4 separate regions of the Homo sapiens genome follow, and all the other regions are linked to region 3. Evidence: promoter capture Hi-C in 16 types of primary human blood cells and fetal thymus (Javierre and others, 2016). All regions are on one chromosome and are shown on one strand. Each heading gives the region's core, a stretch centred on a gene start or on the middle of the fragment in contact. The rest is flanking DNA. Distances are from core to core; before and after follow the strand shown. Region 1 has its middle 39 kb from the start of STRIT1. Region 2 has its middle 130 kb from the start of P2RY1. Region 3 holds the start of ARHGEF26-AS1 (ARHGEF26 antisense RNA 1). Region 4 has its middle 110 kb from the start of P2RY1.

Evidence for each region. Contacts are between HindIII fragments. The CHiCAGO score rates a contact against its expected background, and 5 or more counts as called.
Region 1: a contact is called between a fragment that was not itself captured here and the fragment with the promoter of ARHGEF26-AS1 in region 3, in 1 of 17 cell types (neutrophils). The highest score is 6.2, in neutrophils.
Region 2: a fragment that was not itself captured here is called in contact with the fragment with the promoter of ARHGEF26-AS1 in region 3 in 1 of 17 cell types (total CD8 T cells); the score reaches 5.4 in total CD8 T cells.
Region 4: a contact is called between a fragment that was not itself captured here and the fragment with the promoter of ARHGEF26-AS1 in region 3, in 1 of 17 cell types (naive CD8 T cells). The highest score is 7.6, in naive CD8 T cells.

What each region holds. Positions count from the first base shown.
Region 1 is chr3:155,330,346-155,335,378 of GRCh38, reverse strand. No RefSeq gene overlaps it. Among named protein-coding and RNA genes, the nearest start is that of STRIT1, 39 kb to the right of the region's middle. The HindIII fragment of the contact is 8,170 bases long and covers 1-5,033 here.
Region 2 is chr3:152,965,050-152,970,433 of GRCh38, reverse strand. No RefSeq gene overlaps it. Among named protein-coding and RNA genes, the nearest start is that of P2RY1, 130 kb to the right of the region's middle. The HindIII fragment of the contact is 1,328 bases long and covers 2,437-3,764 here.
Region 3 is chr3:154,119,325-154,124,360 of GRCh38, reverse strand. It overlaps ARHGEF26-AS1 (ARHGEF26 antisense RNA 1), which reads left to right and starts at 3,151. Exons shown (of 4, transcript NR_037901.1): 1 at 3,151-3,289. ARHGEF26 (Rho guanine nucleotide exchange factor 26) reads right to left here and starts at 2,971. Exons shown (of 15, transcript NM_015595.4): 1 at 2,842-2,971; 2 at 1,286-2,419. The coding sequence starts at 2,368. The HindIII fragment of the contact is 6,897 bases long and covers 1-5,036 here.
Region 4 is chr3:152,946,145-152,951,012 of GRCh38, reverse strand. No RefSeq gene overlaps it. Among named protein-coding and RNA genes, the nearest start is that of P2RY1, 110 kb to the right of the region's middle. The HindIII fragment of the contact is 237 bases long and covers 3,173-3,409 here.

The sequences.
Region 1 (5,033 bases), core at 1,789-4,288, 1.2 Mb before region 3:
CTAGGGCAATCTGGCTTATTCAGCTGATGACTTCTTTTTGGCCGAATGCATTGCTATAATGACACTCCTTCTGGTATTTTCTACTCTGTGGCTGAGTAGCCTTGCAGAAGAAGTCTTATCCATTCCTTAAGAATCAGGCTATCAATTTGCAAAATATAAGGATTATTCTGGGTGAATTCCATGATTCTATTCAGCTATAAATTTCTCTCGAACTGGTTGACAATTTTGCTCAGAGTCAGTTCAGTAAAGCTGTCTTGTTTCTTACCATATGCTAAGTGAAGGCAGGATTAAGAAAGCAGAATGATTTGGCCTTGTGGTGTGCACCGCTTCCTGGACAGGAAACAGAAAGGTTTTGTTCAGTTTCTGTCAGGTTCAGATAAGATGAGTTAGCCAGGAGAAGCAGCACATGTCAGACTTGGCACAAAGTGCTGCAGCGGAGTAAGGGCCATGTCACAAAGCAGCGTGTTACATGCCAGTATGATTCTGTTTGAAAAGTGATTATTCCAAAAAGGTGGCAGCAAAATAAAGTTATAACCAGAAACCTAATGAAGTTGGTTAGATGGTATAAAAGTAGGTGTTGGGCTGGTTTCCTAAAAATGGTGTAATTGAAATGACTATGCATTTATTTTCTTCTATCTAAAATGTAATTCCTTTTCTGAATACGTTTTACAAAACGAATAAAGTCTCTTTGTTTACCACTTTTCAGGTTCCTTTTTGAGTTTCTTGTTTTAAGTGGCAGCTAGATCTTCTTCATCTTAATGTAATTAACATGGGAAGAGGCTTTGCATTTGTTCCTGTGAATTGCTAGGGATGTGTGTGCATCCTAGGCTGCCTGTGGGCTTCTGGCAAAACTCATTTTGTTTTTGATGGGCAGTGAACCAACATAAAAGCCTTATACCCTCAGCAGATAAAGATGATAATATTAGAAACTGAAGAGATTTGGGATTCTGAAAAACATCAATTGCTATTAGCTTGAGGGTAGCTCAGCTGCCTGGCTTCCAGGTTGCCAGTTAATATAAAAAAGATAGCATCTGCTGGATAATGAACACCTGTGACAATGATTGTGGTTCTCAGTCACTTGAAAAATAAATCATTTCAATGTGGGTCAGGTGTGGCCAGTGTCGAACTTCCATGGGCCAGATTATTTTCTGGTTCTGATGACATCCAGAATATCTGAAACTGTTCTTTCGAGGACTTATATGAGTGAGGCTACAACAGAGCTACTATCCACTTTCATCTTGTACCACCTACTGAACCAACCTACTGTCAGCTGCACCTAAGTGATTACCCACATGGCTGTAGGTTTGAGCTGAAATGGCATGGTGCTTGACAAGGGTGTCTGAGCTACCTGTTCAAGCACCTGCTTAGGGCCTCTGATCTTGTTCATTTCCTTTCCTTTATTTTTTTGAGCCAGAGTCTTGCTCTGTCACCCAGGCTGGAGTGCTGTGGTGCCATTTCAGCTCACTGCAGCCTCCGCCTCCCAGGTTCAAGTGATTCTCCTGCCTCAGCCTCCCAAGTAGCTGGGACTACAGGCATGTGCCATCATGCCCAGCTAATTTTTGTATTTTTAGTAGAGATGGGGTTTCACCATATTGGCCAAATTGGTCTTGAACTCCTGACCTCAAGTGATCCTCCCACCTCGGCCTCCCAAAGTGTTGAGATTATAGGCATGAGCCACTGCGCCCAGCCTTGTTCACTTTTAATGGCCCTCTGATCTTGTTTATTTTTATCTTTTGATGAATTGCTGCTGGGCGCACTGGACATTATGATTTGGTAGGTCTGATAGGATCAAGTTCATGCTGATACGTTTTGGATGCATGGGTGCTTGGTGTCCCATGGCCAAGAAATACTTCTCTTCTGGAGTTCAAGAACAAAGCAGGAGTTGTTTTTCAAAAGGTGTCTAATAATTCACTGCATATGGCCCGGCCCAGCTCCAGACCCTCAGTGCTTTACTGTCATTCTTCACTGGAGCTTACCACACATTACACATAGCATCTTTCTCGCTACTAGAATCTTGAACACTATAAGGATTTCTGGCTGAAGGCCCAAGTGTCAGGGCTACTTGCACCGCCACAGCCTGGAGCTCTTGCAGAGCTTTCTTCTTCCCCTGGCCTCACTCAAGTTCAGCAGCCTTTTGTGTCACCTGGTAGATAGGCTAGAGGAGTATTTTCAGGTGTGGAATATTCCACATTCAGAACTTTAGGGCATTGAGCTCCTTACTTCAGGATAGAAGGTGTGAGATGCAATAACTTGTCTTTTATTTGAAGATCTACTGGCATGCCCCTCACCACTGGACCCCCAAATGTTTTCTGATGTAGCCCTTTGAATCTTCATAAGTCTTATCTTCAACTCTCTTTAGTGCATGAGTCTTACTAAGACCTCCAGCCTGCTAGACTTCTTACTCATCCGGATAAATTAGCATAATGACATGTATGCAATGCGTCACTGTGATTCTCTGTTGGATGTCCAGGTGGTCCAGATGTCTTTGTAATATATTCCAGCCAGAAACACGGGAGTTAACGCAGCTCTGGGGCAAATTGTAAAAGTATAGTGCTGCCTGTTTCATGTGACTGCAAACTATTTTTGACACACTTTTCTGACTAGAATAGAAAAAAAAAACATATTTTACAAGTCAGTGGCTGCATACCTTTGTACCTGAGGCTGTATTAATCTGCTCTAGAAAAACACCATGCCTGGCACAGCAGATGCAACTGGGGCTACTACATGATTGTGTTTTCAATAGTCTATTCTAGAATCCATCTGGTTTCTTCAGGGACCACACTGGAAAATTAAATGAAGATAACACAAAGACTACCACCCCTGAATCCTTTAGATCCTTAAGGGTAGCATTGACTTTTGCCATCCCTCTGCCCTTAGTATATGATGTAACGTTTTTTAATTTGAGGGGAGCAGTTTCAGAGGCTTCAATCTGACCTTCCCCACCATGACACCCCTTACTCCACATGCCAAGGACGCAATGTTGACATTATAACCACTGACTATGAAATTGACTAAATACTCCTATCTCAGTTATAAATTCAGGGGCCGGGTAAATGCTCAGTTGGTGGGTTCCCAGACAAAATGGACTCTATGTATTTCTCATATCTCCTTCCCCTAAGGGAAGGCACCTCAGATCTTTGAGCATCAATCTCAACTAAGATTCTGTATCTAACAGTCCCTTTTGTTTAATCTGGGGAGAGGACACAGCCTGTGAACAGTTGTCTACCAGGAAATGCCTCACATAAAACAACAAAACAAAAATAAATAAATTATCACAAATTAAGAATATAGAGCAAATATCAACAGAATGGTACTGGCCAGGTGCGGTGGCTCATGCCTGTAATCCCAACACTTTGGGAGGCTGAGGCAGGCAGATCGCAAGGTTAGGAGTTCGAGACTAGCCTGGCCAATATGGTCAAACCCTGTCTCTACTAAAAATACAAAAATTAGCTGGGCGTGGTGGCAGGCCTGTAGTCCCAGCTACTTGGGAGGCTGAGGCAGGAGAATCACTTGAACCCAGGAGGGGGAGGTTGCAGTGAGCTGAGATGACGCCACTGCACTCCAGCCTGGGTGACAGAGTGAGACTCCGTCTCAAAAAAAAAAAAAAAGAAAAGAAAAAAAAGAGAATGGTACTGATGGTACTGATAGAGATGGGTACAAGAACTGGAAGGAGAACATCAGAGCTGAAGACTATTACCCTAAAATCTACATAAATACAGCATATTCCTGAAGTGGATTCTTTGAGGATTTACATGTAAAAAGAAATCTACTAATAATTAATAGTAGTACATTATTATTTTTATTTCTGAAACAAACAGTCCCAAGCTCCCTATCAAAAGAATCCCAGGTATTTCCATCAAAACAAACAAATAACTTATTGGAACTTAGCAATCTTGAATTGACAAGCACAGATCCAGGGGAATATGGCTATGAGCAGATGACAAGAAGGTATCATCTGTAGGGTTACTTTCATCCTTAAGCGTGTTACCCTTGACTGTTTTAATAAATATTTCCATGTAAGTTACAGAGCTTTGTGCTGTCTGGTTGGGACTTAAATTGGCTCTCTGAAAATGGAATATATGCCAATTCTCAGTGTTCTCATGGCTTACAAGTGAAACAGATGAACAATATTATGTGTCATGTTGATTTCTGTTTGATAATGATAAATGTTGGTGTTTCCTCAAAAATTAATTTGCTCCATATGTTGGTTTCTGAAAGACTGAAATAGTGGATCACTTTTGGAAATGGCATCGATAGCATTTTCTAATCTTCATATTGATTACCACCTTTGGTTGATATATATTACTAATGTTTGTATACACATGTGTATACATTATACATTTCAAGATCTATGTGCAGAATAAAAAGCCCATGTTTATTTTCAAATATACTGCTTTCATGACTCTCATGACTCTCCGCTCTGGCTTCAGCTGAGCAGATAAGCGGCCCAGTACGAGTTGGTTCTGTTGCCCTGGAAGGTGTTTCACAGTAGCAAGGGCCCTTGGTATTGGAAGAGACATCAAAGATCATCAGAAGATCCCAAACCTGACAGCACATTTATGAAATTCACTGGGGAGATTAAAACTAGATATATCTCAGCCCCTATTTTGGTCTAGTAATTCAAAATATCTGGATGAGGGTTTTGAAAAAACTCAGCCAGATCTGAGAATTGCATAATCCAGTCACCTTCATGATTTTGTTAAGTCTTCAGATTTAGAGTCAAAAGTAAGCAAGTCTTGTTAAAAACCCATTATCTTGAAAATCTGGTTGTTGAACTGTTTTTGAATGTATCTGCATGGATAAACCAGACTCTTCAGTTTTTATCTGATGGGACATCATGTCCTGTTGTCCTCAATATCCTCCCACAGCAGCCTCCTCTGAGCCTGCTCAGACAAGAGCAGAACACATTTTTGTCAAATGAATTAATAAACTTGAATTTCAGATCTTTTATTGTCAAAGAGGGAAAAATGTCATTCAGAAGGGAAGGACCAGGGCCTTATTTTTTTTCTTGTACCTGAACAATGATACTGTAA
Region 2 (5,384 bases), core at 1,851-4,350, 1.2 Mb after region 3:
GTTTGTGTCTTAATTCCAGTTGATTTTTATTTTTATTTCTTTTTAAAACCAATTTTCAACTCAGCTCACCATATTTCCAGCCCTAAACTTGACATTTTGTATGATACTAAGACCAATTTATTTGAGAACAGAGACTTTTAGTTTTGTTTTTTTATTTGTATCTTTTTTTTTTAAAAAAAACCATTTTCTTGAGCAATTAATAGAGAGGAAAATTTGTTTAATAAAGAAGAGGATGAGATAGAGGACTCTCTGTAACATGGCATCAGCATTCATTTAGCAAATATTTACTAAGCAACTGTGGTATGTAAGGCATTGTCCTAGATGGCAGGGACACATCAGCAAAAAATGCAAACAAACCAGAAGTCTCCACCCTTGTAGATCTTATTTTCTTGCTGGGGAGATGGAGAGTTAAGGAATAAATAAGTAAATTTTACAGAATGCTAGAAGATGGTAAATGCTATGGAGAAAAATAAAACATGAAAGGAGATAAGAGTGTCAAGTGTGGGTGGGTTGCAATAATAAACAGGACCATCAGGGAAAGCTATCCAGAGATAGGAATGTTTGAGCAAAGATTTAAAAGAGGTAAGAAAACAATTTACCTAAATATTTAGGGGAGGAGGTTTCCAAAGAGAGGAAACAGCAAGTGCAAAGCAATAAGGCAACAGAAGGCCAGGCAATGTGGCTCATGCCTGTAATCTCACCACTTTGGGAGGCTGAGGTGGAGGCTGACTTGAGCTCCCGAGTTCAAGACCAGCCTGGGCAACATAGTGAGACCCTGTCTCTACCAAAAAAAAAAAAAAAAGAAAGAAATGAGGCAAAGGAATTCCTGCAAGGCAGCCTGCATAGCTGAAGTAGTGATCCAGCAGCAGGGAATAGTAAGAGCCTGTCAAAGAGGGGATGGATGGGCCAGACCACATTGGCTCTGAATGCTTTTGTAACGTTTTTATGCTGAATAAAATGGGAAGCCATTACAGGATTTTGAAAAGAGAACTGATATGCTTTGACTTAACAGTGTAAGTACTTCACTCTGGCTGCTATCTTAAGAATTTTCTGTTTGGGAATAAGGATAGGAGGAGAGAGACTGATTAGAAAGTCATTATAATAATCCAGGGGTGCAAGGCTGCTTGTTTGAAAATAGTGAGAAGTGGTCAGATTCTGGATATATTCTGAACAGAGAGGCAACAAGATTTGCTCAGGGGTTGAATGTGATCTCTTAAGTAAAGAAAGCAATCCAGGATGACTCTGAGGTTTTTGACCTGAGCAACTGGAAGTATGTTGTTGCTATTTACCAGTGTGAGAAAGACAGTTTGAGGGAAAGATCAAGAGCTCCATTTGGACATGTCAAGTTGTGACATCCATCCTAGAGTACATGGCCAGTTGAGGGTTATGAGCCTAAAGGTCCAGGGAGAGATCTCTGCTGAAGATTTGGGATACATTTGAAGATTGTTGGCCTACCAGAGAGTATTTAAAATAACACAACTGGGTTAACAGAGAGTGCATGATAGGGAAGATACAGGACCAAGAACTGAGCCCCAGGACACTCTGATGTTAAGAAGCTGGGGCAAGAACAGAAGCCAGGACTTCAGACTGAGAACAACAGTGACCAGTCAGGGAGAAAAAAAAACCAGAGACACTTGTGATGGACTCCAAGTGAAGGAAGTGCTTCAGGAGGAAGGAGTGATCAGCTTTGGAAATGTTTCTGATAGGGTAACATGGGCACTGACTATTGGATTTAGATCTGTGAATTTATTTTTTGGATTAGAGTCAAAGTTTCTTTCCCTCTGGCTTCTGCTCATTGTATTTTTCAGTCGATCGTCCTGCTTTCTGAAGCCGGGTCTGAGTCATCCTGGAAATAGATGCTTATAAGTTCTGGCCTAGTGTCAGGTCATGTGTCTGTTTTCCCTGCCTCTTCAAATTCTAAAGCAACCAATTTCCTGATAGGGTTAGGTCAAAACCTCTTGTATGTATAGTGGGTGGTAACAGAGAAGAGGCCAAGAAGAATTGAATCTCATTCTCCCAGTGCATTTCCAATGTGATTTAGTGTACAGACTGTCAAAGAATATTATGCTTCAAGAGTAACAAGATAGGTGGCCCTTTGGTTCTTTTTTCAGGGAATATGAAAAACTGAAAAAGATGAAGAAATAAGGTATCACAGATTTGGAATTTAAATTATAAATTTGCACATCACGTCTTATGGCATTGGTATTTCAATACTCTATCTAGTCTTCTAGTTCATAAATCAAGAATTACAACACATTCCCAGAACAATGAAAATAGGTAAACTATGGCTAAAAAGCACTTTAAAGATTTGTAGCAACTTAGCAGTTCTCTAAAAATAAAATTTCCTCGGGAGAATAAAATGTTATTTCTATCACAGTGCAAACACCAGATAACTGAAATGTAATAAATCATTTATAAGCTGACTTAAAGAAAGCTTTTATATATTTTGATTAGAAAACAAGTTAAAGAGATGCAGTTCACAAGTTTATTGTATTTTTCTTTGTATACCAATTTTTCTAATTAAGACTTTACTTTGCATAGGTTTTTCATAAGAAAAAATAAATACATATTTCAGGAAGTATCTTTGAATTTTACAAATCTATTCTATACTGAAGATCCAATATCAGAATAAAAATTCCTGTTTTATTTACCTATTGCTACATAATAAATCACTTAAAATCTTAACAGCCTCAAACTACAATTTTATTATCTGTGTGATTTTGTTGGTTAAGTGGGCTCAGCTGGGTGTTTGAATGTATGCAGCAAAGTGGTTTTTCTGTTCCATGTGCTGTTGGCTAAGACTGTGGTCATCAGGATACTGGCTATGCTACAGTACAAGTCGGCTCACTCACATAGCTGGCAGTTGGTGCTGGCTCTTGCTGGGAACTCAGCTGAGGCGTTAGGGTGTCTTGGTTCCTCTGCATGGCCTCTCTATATGTTTTAGGATTCCTGTAGCAAGGGAGCTAAATTCTAAAAGGTTCAAAGTGGAAACTGTCAGTGTTCTTAAGGCCTGGGCTTGGAAGCATAGGAATGTCATTTCTGCTGTATTCTGTTGGTCAAAACCAGGCACCAGTTTAGCACAGATTCAAGAAAAGGAAATAATTTAGGAAATGGCCTAAGCACCCAAGAAGAAAAAAAATATTGAAGGCTATCTTTGGAGATTAGCTACCAGAATTTGTCCCCTGGCTTCAACAGTTAATGTTTCTACAATATGCAAAATATCCTCACCATTCCCTAAAATCCCAAAAGCCTTATTCCATCATGACAGAGCTCAAAGTCTAGCCATTGTCATTAAATCAGGTACAGTATAGATGGGGCTCCTCAGGTGCAGTTCCTTGGGTACCAAGAACCATAAACTAACAGATAAATTATCTGTCATCCATGTTCCTAACTTAAAATGTTAATATAGGATGGTACAACTATAATTGTTTAAAAAGGGATAAAGTAGGAAGTCCATAGAAGTCACCATTTCATAGCAACTCTGAAATCCAGCTATGCATAAGTTGTCATTTATTCTGATTTCAGGGATTGGGGAATATTCTTTGATTAGGGCAGTTCTACTCCCTGGGAGTGAATTCTGTGGTTCTTGGATGTACTTAGTCTTTGGACTCTTTATTTTGCCCTCTGAATCATATCTCCTTTTCCATAGAAATAACTACCATTTAGAGTTGTGTAGCTTTTTCAGCCTGCTTTCTACCCATAGGAGCTTGGGGGCCCAGATGCTTTTTAATTTTAAATTGTCTTTGTACTATTTGGTCCAAGCTTTTACAATTCTTTAAAAAATGATGTGGGTTTTCCATGTATCAAATTACAATCTCTATTAGAAAAAAACACCTACAAATTTCAAGCAGGCCTATCTCTACCTTGGGCTATGGGACATCTTAAAAATTCTTAGAAGCTCTTTTTTGTGTATGTGATAAACAGAGTATAAGAATAATGCCTTTATGGGGCTGGGCGTGGTGTCTCATGCCTGTAACCCTAGCACTTTGGGAGGCCAAAGCAGGCAGACCACTTGAGGCCAGGAGTTTGAGACTAGCCTGGCCAATATGATGAAACTCTGTCTCTACCAAAAATACAAAAATTAGTCAGGTGTGCTGGTGCATGCCTATAGTCCCGACTACTGGGGAGGCTGAGGCACGAGAATCACTTGACACTGGGAGGTGGAGGTTGAAGTGAGCTGAGATAGCACCATTGCACTCCAGCCTGGGTGAGAGAGTGAGATCCTGTCTCAAAAAAATTTAAAAAATAATAATAAAATAAATAAAAGATTCTTGGAGGCCCACTTTTTTAACTGAGAGAGTCTATGAGACTTGATCTTAAGATTCTTAGAAGTTCTTTTGTCTGGCTGGGAGCATCTAAAAGGTACTCCATTACATTTTTCTGAGATCTCAACACAGAATCTTACAACCACACCCCTGCACTAATCTTGGCTGTGAGGTGGTGTTTTCCTGGCAGTGCCCTGGCATTGCCTCTAGGTTTCAATTTACTTTGAGTATATTTTGTGACCTGGGAGTTTGAGAATGACAAAAAAATTTATTTTCCAAACCAGTGATTCTGGGATTGGAAATGTTTCCTCTATATGCTACTTGAAAACAGAACAACTTTTTCTTCAGTTCATCTATTTTTTTTCTTATCACACACAATTAAAAAACAACACTTGGCACTTTCAAAAAATGCCATCTGAAAATGTTCTTAGTTATATCTACAAGCCATCTTCCATACTATTGCAAGCAAAAATGTTGCCAAATGTTTTACGACTACATAACATGGGTAATCTTTTCTTCAGTCTTCAATAACAATGTCCTTACAGTCTGTCCAGCCTCCATTTATAATTTTTGAGGGCTTTCTGCCCTATGCTAGCTACTAGTCCTAAAGCCAATTACATATATTTTAGGTTTTTTTTTTAATAGAAACACTTTACCTCCAGGTATCAATTTTAATTTCAGTTCTAAAACCACCTTTGCAAAATTATGACAGTAAGAGAAATCTGACATAGTTGACTCCATCTTGCTTCTGACCTCCACACTATCCTTGATCCTTCCTGGGTGTAGACCACACTAACTTTGGGAAGAATTCAGTTTATAGTTTAACTTTGAAGCAAGGATCATAATAGTTTCTCCCTACAACTAATCCCTTCCCTGTTCGTGGGCTGTTTTTAAGACTAATGAAAGGTCACAAGATTAGTACTATAGGAGAGGCCAGAGTTCTGCTAAAATGAAGGCACAGTTTCTATAATCCCTGACTTCTCAGGAAGTCACAAGATTTGTAACTTCCCCAATTGCTACTATATATAACATCATTATTGTAGAATCTAAGTGTTTTTTAAAAGATGTTTTTCAGACTGACCCCACCTGGACTTATGACTCATGACTCAACTGGTCCTG
Region 3 (5,036 bases), core at 1,902-4,401:
TATGTATGAATGAGCCAAATAGAAAATACAGCTATTTTAAGTAAAAATACTTTTTTTTAGTCATTACATTAATTAGATTTCCAAGAGCGCACAGAAGCTGAGCCCTGGAGGAGTTCACTCATTTGATCACTACAATTCACTGAAACAATGAAATAAAATGTACAAGATCCCCCACACCCTGTCAAAACAGATTGAGAATCCTCAAATAACTAGCAGGTCAGCTCATTTTACAACTCGTGATTCACCATCACTGTTAAATTGAACTTTGCTATACTTGCAGAGTTGGAAAAAACACATAAAATGTTATGTAATTTATTTTCTTTAAGACCACGGGCTCTAAAATAAAACAGGCTTGCTTGTGTTTTGCATATGTGCCATTTATATAGACTGGTTCCAGTGCTCTGATTAACCAAGAAAAAATGTGGCTGCCAAAAAGAATCTGCCTTATTGCTGAAACCTGTGTTGTTTCTGTGGAAGGAAGCACACACTCCAAAATACCCCTCTTCAGTTTTCCCTGTTTCTTTATGTCATATTTGACAATATTTTAATAAGTGCAGCTAATGGGACAATATAGGGGAGCAATACCACACAGTGTCCACCCTAACCTTAAGTTTTCAGCTGCCAATCTGTTACATGCACTCAAGGATGAATGGGCATACAACGGGAATAAAACACAACCAAAGGCCACGGTGACAAAAACAAGCAACAAAAAAGATGACAAAATATTTATGTCTTTTGTGATCCTGGCAACTGATTTTCAAATTCACATTCTACCTGAATGACATCAAGTGCGTAGTAACCACTCAAAATTCAGTAAGTAAAAGCAAAAAATAATCAACAGGCTCAAACAGGAATCAGTATTTTTCTGAATCAGCTGTGATAACAGCTATCATTGACTGAAACCTCTAAGCAAACTCCAGACAACTTGACTGCAGAGTGCGGTTCTGAACATGCTCCTCCCCCTTTCAGCTATCTCTTTTAAAAGTGGTAAAGACTCACTCAGCCAATAATCTGCCATATTTCACTCTTGTCCCCCCCAATTCTGCCTGAGCTTAGAAATTTAAAAGTGATGAATTTCACTTCTTCCCACAAAGTTGCACTAAACTCGGCTGTGCCTGCCAGCATCAAAGTGGCCAAGAGCTGGATGTACACTAGCAATCAAGAGCAAAACACAGAATTAAAACGGAATGACTTCTTCGGGTTTCCTCTACGCTCCTCCTCCCCACTCCCAACACATTTACTTTCCGCTTAGTGAATGGCGTGCCACACTCCTGCCCACTTTTACCTTTATCCTTCCCAGACTGGAAAACTTCTCCTTGTCTTCCATCACCACTTTCAGAACAGGCTGGGACATTCTGTTCTTCTTCTTCGAGCTGGTAGGACTGTCAAAATCAAAGCCACTGACCACTGCCCTGCGATAAGACGTGGACCGCAAGCCTCTCCGCAGAGACCCTGGGCTATCCACGTCGTTATCGACCTCACTCTCCTCCCCTGCGTGACCCAGGGGTCCTCCTAGGCCCTCCACCATGCTGCGCACCTTGAGGAGTCTCTTGTGGGGCTCCACATTTTGATTGTTGGATTTACTTATTTTAATTTCCGAGGCCAGACTCTTCGGAATGATCTGCTGCTTCCCCACTTTGAGGGCGGCGGGGCTGTTTGTACTCAAAACCACGGAAGGATTCTCGAGGAGCTCGTTCTCCTGGGAGGGCAGCCTTTGGAGGGGGAGTTTTTGTTCCGAAGAACTTTTCTGGGGCCCAGGAAAGAGCCCCCGTTCGGGGTCCTTTGCCTTCCGGCCGGACTGCGAACCTGACCCAGGAGAGTCGTTATTAGCGGCAAGGCCATTTGCAGTGGGCGAAGGCACCGGGCTGGCAGTCAACCCAGTAAGGTCCTCCTCGGGGGTGCAGGGGGCGGGCGCGTTAGGAGTCCGCGGGGGGCGCAGAACCGGCGGCGGCGGCGGCGCAGGCAAGGTCACCGCGCCATTTGCTGGGGATTTCGGGGAGCCGCCAGGCACCGCTTTGGGGAGCTTGGGTGACTTGGGCCGTCGAAGTCGAGGAGAGGCAGCCCTGTACTCCGGGGATGCCGTCCCACCATTGGCCACCGCTCTCCGCTGGGCGCCCAGAAGCAGGGGGCTCCTATGTACCGTCCTGCTGTCCGAGGCGGTGGGCACCTGGGCGGGAATCTGCGCTGCGAGGAGCGTCCCTCCGTCCTCCACCGGGAAATCCGTAATTAGTAACCCGTTGGGGCTCTGGTAGGACTGGGGCCTCGGCTTGCTCCGGCCCAGAACCTGGTGGGGCTGAGGAATCGACCGCCTCCGCCACAAAGGGGTTATGCTGTTGCTAGAAAAATCCACCTCGCTCTCGCCGTCCATAGCCGGGCCTCGAAGTCAGCGCCGGGAGGAGCAACACCGAGTTAGTCTTGCCTAAAGAGGAAAGAAGTTAGGAAACTGTGCCTCTGGACAACCGGGGACGCCTGGCCGACTCGCGTGCTCCCAGACCGGCGGTCCCCCTGCTGCTGCGCAGGACACGACTGCACCGCACTTACCCGCCCTTTCTCGGGCAAAAACTGCACCACTGCGGTGCGCGGTTCCCGGCAGAAATCTGGGCTGCCGCCCAGGCGGATTAATCCAATCACCTCCGCGTCCCTCCCGCGCCAAAAGACCACCCGCAGCAAATGAGCCCGCCACCCATTCACTGAGTGCAAGCCGAGGCACAAGAAACTTGGGACGAGTTCAGCTTTCTTGGGAAACTCGCCGCGGGACGCTCCCTTCTGTCGCCATCCAGCCTCCCGCCCTCATCATGGGTACCCTCGCGCTCCAGGTGCGCGGCTCCCACGCAAATTTACCTTCTGGGGCTTGCAATGTCCGGGGCCGAGGAGCACCCACTACCCCGTGGGTGGCCCGGGTCCGGGACCGAAGCGCAGCCGCGAGAGCTTAGGAGAGCGCTGCCGCCGACCGCGGCGCCGGCGCCGGCCCGCCCCCACGCCTGACTACGCCCCCACACTTGGCCCCGCCCCCGTTTCGGCCCCGCCCAGATCCGCCTCCATCGCAGCCAGAAGCAAGAAGCTGTCTTCCCGCCCCCGCGTGCCTACAATCAGCCCCAGTCTCCCTGGGAAACCGACGAGCGCACCTGAGCTGGGTTCTGAGCTCCAGCGTTTTGGGGCTAGAAGTTGCGGACTAGTAGCTGAGGCGGCACGGGAGTGTAGGCGCGCGGGGTCGTTGCCGGGGGCACAGAGTGAGAACAAGCAAGGGAGCCCTGCTGAATTGCAGCTTAGGAAGCCCTGAATCCTGGAGGTGCGTTGAAACCGAGAACGCGCGGCGTAGTAGACTTTGTGAGATGCGTGGGCAGTAGCGCAGAGTTCTAACGCAGAGTCATGCCCTCTCAGCATTCAGGTGGTCTTAAATCAGATGGGCTCGTCCCAGTGCTGAAAATGCATTATAATATAAACAGATAGATGGGCTTGTTTGTGCCTAGAGTCTTTCCGTAGGAAAGACTGGCAGCTCTGAAGAGGGAAACTGGGTGGCTAGGAAACCGGAGGGAGGGAGAGTTTTCATATAATTATTTTTGGTCCTTGTATGCTTTGCATCTTGAAACCTATCTGTGAAAAATAAGCTCAATTTACACTACAAAAAAAGTATTGGTTTCCAACAGTACATAGAATAAAACTCAAAATCCTTAGCATGGCTTACAAGACACTTCACTACTGCCCTACTTCTTCAGCCTAGTCTTTCCTCCATCACTTTCTTCATTATTTTTTTGGCCACACTCAAAGTTTGACAGCCTCATAACCTTCCCTTTCGTTCCTTCTTGACCCGACTTGTCACTGCGTCAGAAAGGCCTTCCCTGTCCCCTCCTTAATTATACCATTGCCCCGTTTATTTTCCCAGCCACTTGTTCTCTTCTATTTTTGCACTTATAAAATTTTGTATATATATATATTTATGTGTTTATGTTTATTGTCTTTTGTCTTTACACAGTAATTTGCATGAGGGCAGGGGTCATGTTTTTTTTTCTTCTCCGTATTTCCGGCACATGGTGGGCACTTAATATTTATTTAATGAGTGAGAGAATGAATGACAGGAATGAAGTGAAAACAGTGACCATTCCTTCCAAAGTGCTTGGTTGTCAAATAGTAGAAAGATGGCTGTGTCTTGGCCAGGCTCCTGCTGTGTGACAATAATGAGGCAAACTTGAGAAGACAAATAATTTTAGACCATAAGAGCTGTATAATTGATTCTATTAGCAAGACAAATGGGCCCTTCTCCAAGTTCTCTTTCTGCATTCATGCATTCAGCAGGGATGCAGTGAGCATCCACTGTGTGCAAGTTATGCTGCCTGTTTTTGCCCTAGATTGAATGCAATGGCCAAAAATATTAAGATGTGATCTCTGGGTGGTGAGATGAAGGATAGTATGTTTCATGCTGCTTTATATTTTTCTATACTTAACGAAATATCCTGGACAATGAAGATATATTACTTTGATCTGAGACATTTTCATAAACAAAGAAAAAAAGAAACGGCATCGAAAAATGTATAAGAAACTTTTTTTTTTTTAGACGGAGTTTTGCTCTTGTTGCCCAGGCTGGAGTCCAATGATGCGATCTCGGCTCACCGCAACCTCCGCCTTCAGGGTTCAAGCAATTCTCCTGCCTCAGCCTCCCGAGTAGCTGGGATTACAGGCATGTACCACCACGCGCGGCTAATTTTGTATTTTTAGTAGAGACAGGGTTTCTCCATGTTGGTCAGGGTGGTCTCGAACTCCCAATTTCAGGTGATCCACCCACCTTGGCCTCCCAAAGTGCTGGGAATTGCAGGTGTGAGCCACCGCTCCTGGCCTAAGAAAATTTTTAAGAAAGAAATTTTCCACATTGGGTGGAAGACATGGCTGATTACATACTCACATGTAGGTACATAGACTTTTTTTTTAATATAAGGTGTTTTCTATACCAACATGTATTGCTGTTATATTGGGGAAATATAATAAATTAATTTCAGAAGTGGTTACCGACTGACAAATGGAGTATTCACCTAATTCAAAAT
Region 4 (4,868 bases), core at 2,042-4,541, 1.2 Mb after region 3:
CACTGGAATTCAAAGTCTTAGTATGAAAAATGCAAAATATCCTATTAATATTTTTAAATATTGATTTACATTTTGAAATATTATTTTGAGTATGTTGAATTAAATAAAATATATTATTAAAATTAATTTCACCTGTGTCTTTTTACCTTTATAAACATGGTTATTAGATAATTAAAAATGACTTATTTTACTTTATATTTCTATAAGACAGCACTTATCTATGACAATTCAAAATCCAAGAGTGGCTTCCAAAAGCAGTGAGTTTAACATTGCCGAATACATTCAAACTATTCACTGAGAAGCTGAGCCCAGCTGAATTCTCAGCTTCTTCTCAAGTCTACTTCATTCATTCATTCTCTTAGCATGCATTTATTGATTATCTACTATGTGCCATGCACTTTGCTAAGCATTGGTCCCTTACATCAAGATAGAGGTACAAGTTAATTTAATAAAAGGCAATAAATATTATAATAGCGATATATATACACTATGGTGTTAAGAATGTCAGAGAAGAAGCATCAAGATCTTTCTGAGGAGCTGTCATTTGATTCACACTTGCAGGATAAGTAGGAATTTTACAGGTTTAGAGAGGGAAGGAGGAAATTCTTGAAAGAAAGAAAAGCAAAAATGTAGGAGAGGATTTGGAAAGTTTGTGGAATTGCAAGGTCAGTGTTGTTACTTAGACGACAGAAGGGCAGAAGATGAAGTTGGATGGAGAGAAAGGAACTGTGTCATGAAGGGTCTTATTCACCTTTTAAAGGACCTTAGATTTTACTTTGTAGGGAATGAAGAGTCACTGACAATTCTAAACCCGTTTATTTGATTCTAAGAATTATGTTTCAGAAATATCATTTTATTGGTTTTGAGGACAATAAACAGGAAACATTTCAGAGTAGAGGTAGAGAGTTCGGTAAGCTTTTGCAATGGTCCTGGCAAGAAATGACAAGGGCCCAAACAAGAGCACCAAGAAAGGGCAGATAACTATTAGGAAAACCAGGGCGGGCTGCATGAGCCAGGTCCAGCTTGGGAAGTCAGATAAATGAAGATGCCATTTACCAGGGCACACAAGGTAGGAAGAGATTTGGAAGAATGCTATTTCAGTTTTGGGCATCTGAGACTGAAATATCTTTGGGACATCCAAGTAGAGAAATCTGCTAGGTCATTCTCTGTATATTTTCAAATAAGCCAAATAAAAATGCAGGGGAAACATGAACAATTTTTAAAGTTTAACCACTGGAAGAAAGAAAAAGCAATCTATGATTTCATCTTGAAATAAATGGGTTTAAAAGTATATTGCATACTTTGTCTTACTTTTCAGTCAAGTAAATTTAGGTAAATATTTCATCTAATTAATGTTTTGTACAGGCAAATGCAGATACATTTAGTCATATAATAGGAAAGCATTGGCAGAACTGTAAATGTGCAGTATTAAGGCAATGGCTATATAAACAGCAACATGTACCTACTCTGGAACATTATGTGTCAGCAATGAACAGTATATTTTGGAGAATAGTTAATCAGTGAAATAGTCATGATATGATGACAAATGAAAAAGAGCAAAATGCAAAACTGTATAAATAGTACAATCCCAATTTTGCCAAAAAGATATGTATCTAGTTATACAGAAAAATGGCAAACTATCCTCTCTAGAAAGTGGGATTACAGATAATTTTGATATTCCCCTTGTTTTGCTTTTATTAAATGTTTTACACTGAAAAATTGTCAAGGACACCAGAGAATATGTGGTTTATGTAAAAAGAAATGTTCAACTTCGATAAATTTTAGAATTATTATTCAGTTGTAGATAAAAATAAAAATTCATCAACCTTATTTTGAATATAACTATGACATACTCTCACTTCCGGTCATTATCCTCTTGGAATAGAAAACTTCATTTCTTTTCTTTTTGGAGGGGACAGAGCCTCACTTTCACCAATGCTGGAGTGCAGTGGTGCAATCATAGCTCACTGCAGCCTCAAATTCTTGGACTCAAGTCATCCTCTGGCCTCAGCCTCCCGAAAGCTTGGACTACTAGTGTATGCCACCACACCCAGCTAATTTGTAAGTTTCTTGTAGAGATGGGGTCTCCCTATGTTTCCCAGGCTTGTCTCGAACTCCTGGGCTCAAGTGATCCTCCCACCTTAGCCTCCCAAAGTGCTGGGATTATAGGTGAGCCACCATACTCAGCCAAAAGTTCATATCCTTATACCAATTAATATACATGCTATTTGTAATTAGGCTCATTACCAAAAATTAAGGTGACTTTTAAATCTATCATTAAACCTAGGACAATTTGGAAGACAAAAAGGCCACTAATCATAATTACTCTGGGACAACAGGTACAAATCTGGACATATGGTCATCCTCTCTAGAATAGGCACATACATTTACCTGGATTAAGATTTAAGGCTTTATATTGTGAATAAAAAGTTAACCTTTAGCACTACTTTATTTCCTTTTTCATAAGAGTAAACATTTTGGGGATAGCATGAATGAATGAGCTGAACTCCACAATGGCATGCACAGGCAGCTCTTTTTGCCAATAATTTGCTCGATCACTAGATTGCAGAGTTCAGGGTTAAAAATACTTCAAACATCCTTGATGGGCTGATACAGTGAGAGGAAAAATAAAACAGGAAAATAATCTGTTTCAAAAATGATTTATGCCATGTAGGCTTTTCTGGAGTTTTTAAAGTTCCATTTGAAAAGTAAAGACAGTTGTACATTATGTTCTGACTTTCTGACTTTTTGTCTTCTGGTTGATCTTCTAAATGCTAGAATGGAAAGCTTGGGAAATGTTTTCAAAATTTTTATTGATAATTATTTACAAATCTGATGCCTTGGAATTATCTGATATCTGTAATAGATGATACAAAGTTTCATGAAGATTTATGTGACTAAACAGAAATTCATAAAGTCATTTAGACAATTAAGATTTGCACAAACTTCTATAATTATTTAAAAAAGAAAATGGAAAGGGGAAACCATTTTTATAAACAGATGAGTATAGTAAATGCTGGAGAATGCATAAAAAAGATCATATCTCTTTTTATTAATTAACACTGTTGTAAAGAAGCGACAATGGAAAGGAAAATCCATGAACCCATAAAATCATACACTTAAATTTATGCACAGCACTTTTGATCCTTGAATAGAATTAAAATCAAAAGCTTCTTAGCAGCATTCATAGTTAAATGCAGCTATAACATACAAGTATATTTTATAATTTGCTTTTACCAAAGTATCTTGAACATTACAGCAAATGTGCTTATTAAAAATTTCTTTGAATTTTAGAATAAAGTTTTGCTGATGATGGGATTAATGGATGGCAGGAAACTATCGTTTATTCATTTTCTACGCTGTACCATGAAGGGGTCCGGGTACTCAAAAACCTTGTTTTTGTTAAGCTTCAAAACAAAAACAAAAGCAAAAACAAAAACCCTGAGAGATGGCTTTACATACGAGAAACCTGAGAGATAAAGTATTTAAGAATTATTACTAAGGACTAAAATTAAATATTTCACACCTAGGTACTCATGTCCTTAAATAAATCAATAGATTATCAATCATATTAAAGTATGCATATATAGATTTTTAGAATACAAATAGCTCCTCTTTTAAATGTCTTTTGAGTCCATGTATTTCTAATCTCTATAAAGTTCAAAAGGTGGTTAAAATTAAGTTAAAATAATTTTCTTATTTGAACAGTAGAAATAAGTTTTAGGATGGCTTTGGAAATAACAATATTCTATTCAACTTGATAATTACTTTCAAAACAGGATATCCATTAAAAAACCCCTGTGAAGAATTAAACAGATTTAAACACCATCTCAAGGCATGAAAGACAATTTTGCAGTGGTTTTATCATTCACACTATAGTTTAATTTTTAAAGGTACACTGGGATGCTAGCAGAGGGAAGCCTCACATGGCAGGGGCATCATGGTGGGACGAGAAAGAAGGGGCAGCTTGGTAGAGAGCAGATAGTAGTGAAATAGAGAGAGGGCACCGGGATTCCAGTCCACCATTTATCTTAACCAGTTTTCTTACTTAGAATAAACAGTTCAATCTCAGTGGCCTCATTCCTTCCTGTAGATTATTTCTCCTTTCTTATTCCCCTCAAAGTCTAAACTGTAAGGAGGGCAGTTAAAAATTAAAATAACCAGGCCCACTGTAAAGTCCCTTAAGGAGATAATGACAGCAGTGATGATATTATAATGCTTTCTAAGGTTCACTCCAGCTTTGAAAGTATATTATTGGATAGTTTGTTCTGGGATTTGTTATGAGAAGATAACTAGTATCTTATTAGCTGATCTTTGAATCTACTCACTAGAGGACAGTATATTGGATGTGCGCAAACACACTAAAGATGTGTGGCTCACTGAAATAAAAACCTATTTTGGGCCAGGCACAGTGGCTCATGCCTGTTATCCCAGCACTTTGGGAGGCCAAGGTGGGCGGATCACCTGAGATCAGGAGTTCTAGACCAGCCTGGCCAACATGGTGAAACCCCATCTAAAAATACAAAATAAATAAATAAACAAACAAACAAATGAATAAATAATTTAGCCAGGCGTGGTGGCACGTGCCTGTAATCCCAGCTACTCAGGAGGCTGAGGCAGGAGAATTGAACCTGGGAGGTGGAGGTTGCAGTGAGCCGAGATCACACCACTGCACTCCAGCCTGGGTGACAGAGCAGGACTCCATCCAAAAAAAAAAAAAAAAAGAAAGAAAAGAAAACTATTTTGAAGAAAGATGCTAGCCAAAGAAACACATGAACAAGATAAATTCAGGCTCAATATTCTGAATAAAATTACAAGCTTTAGAGGGCTATTGAAATGTTTTTATTGGTAAACATTTAAACACAGTA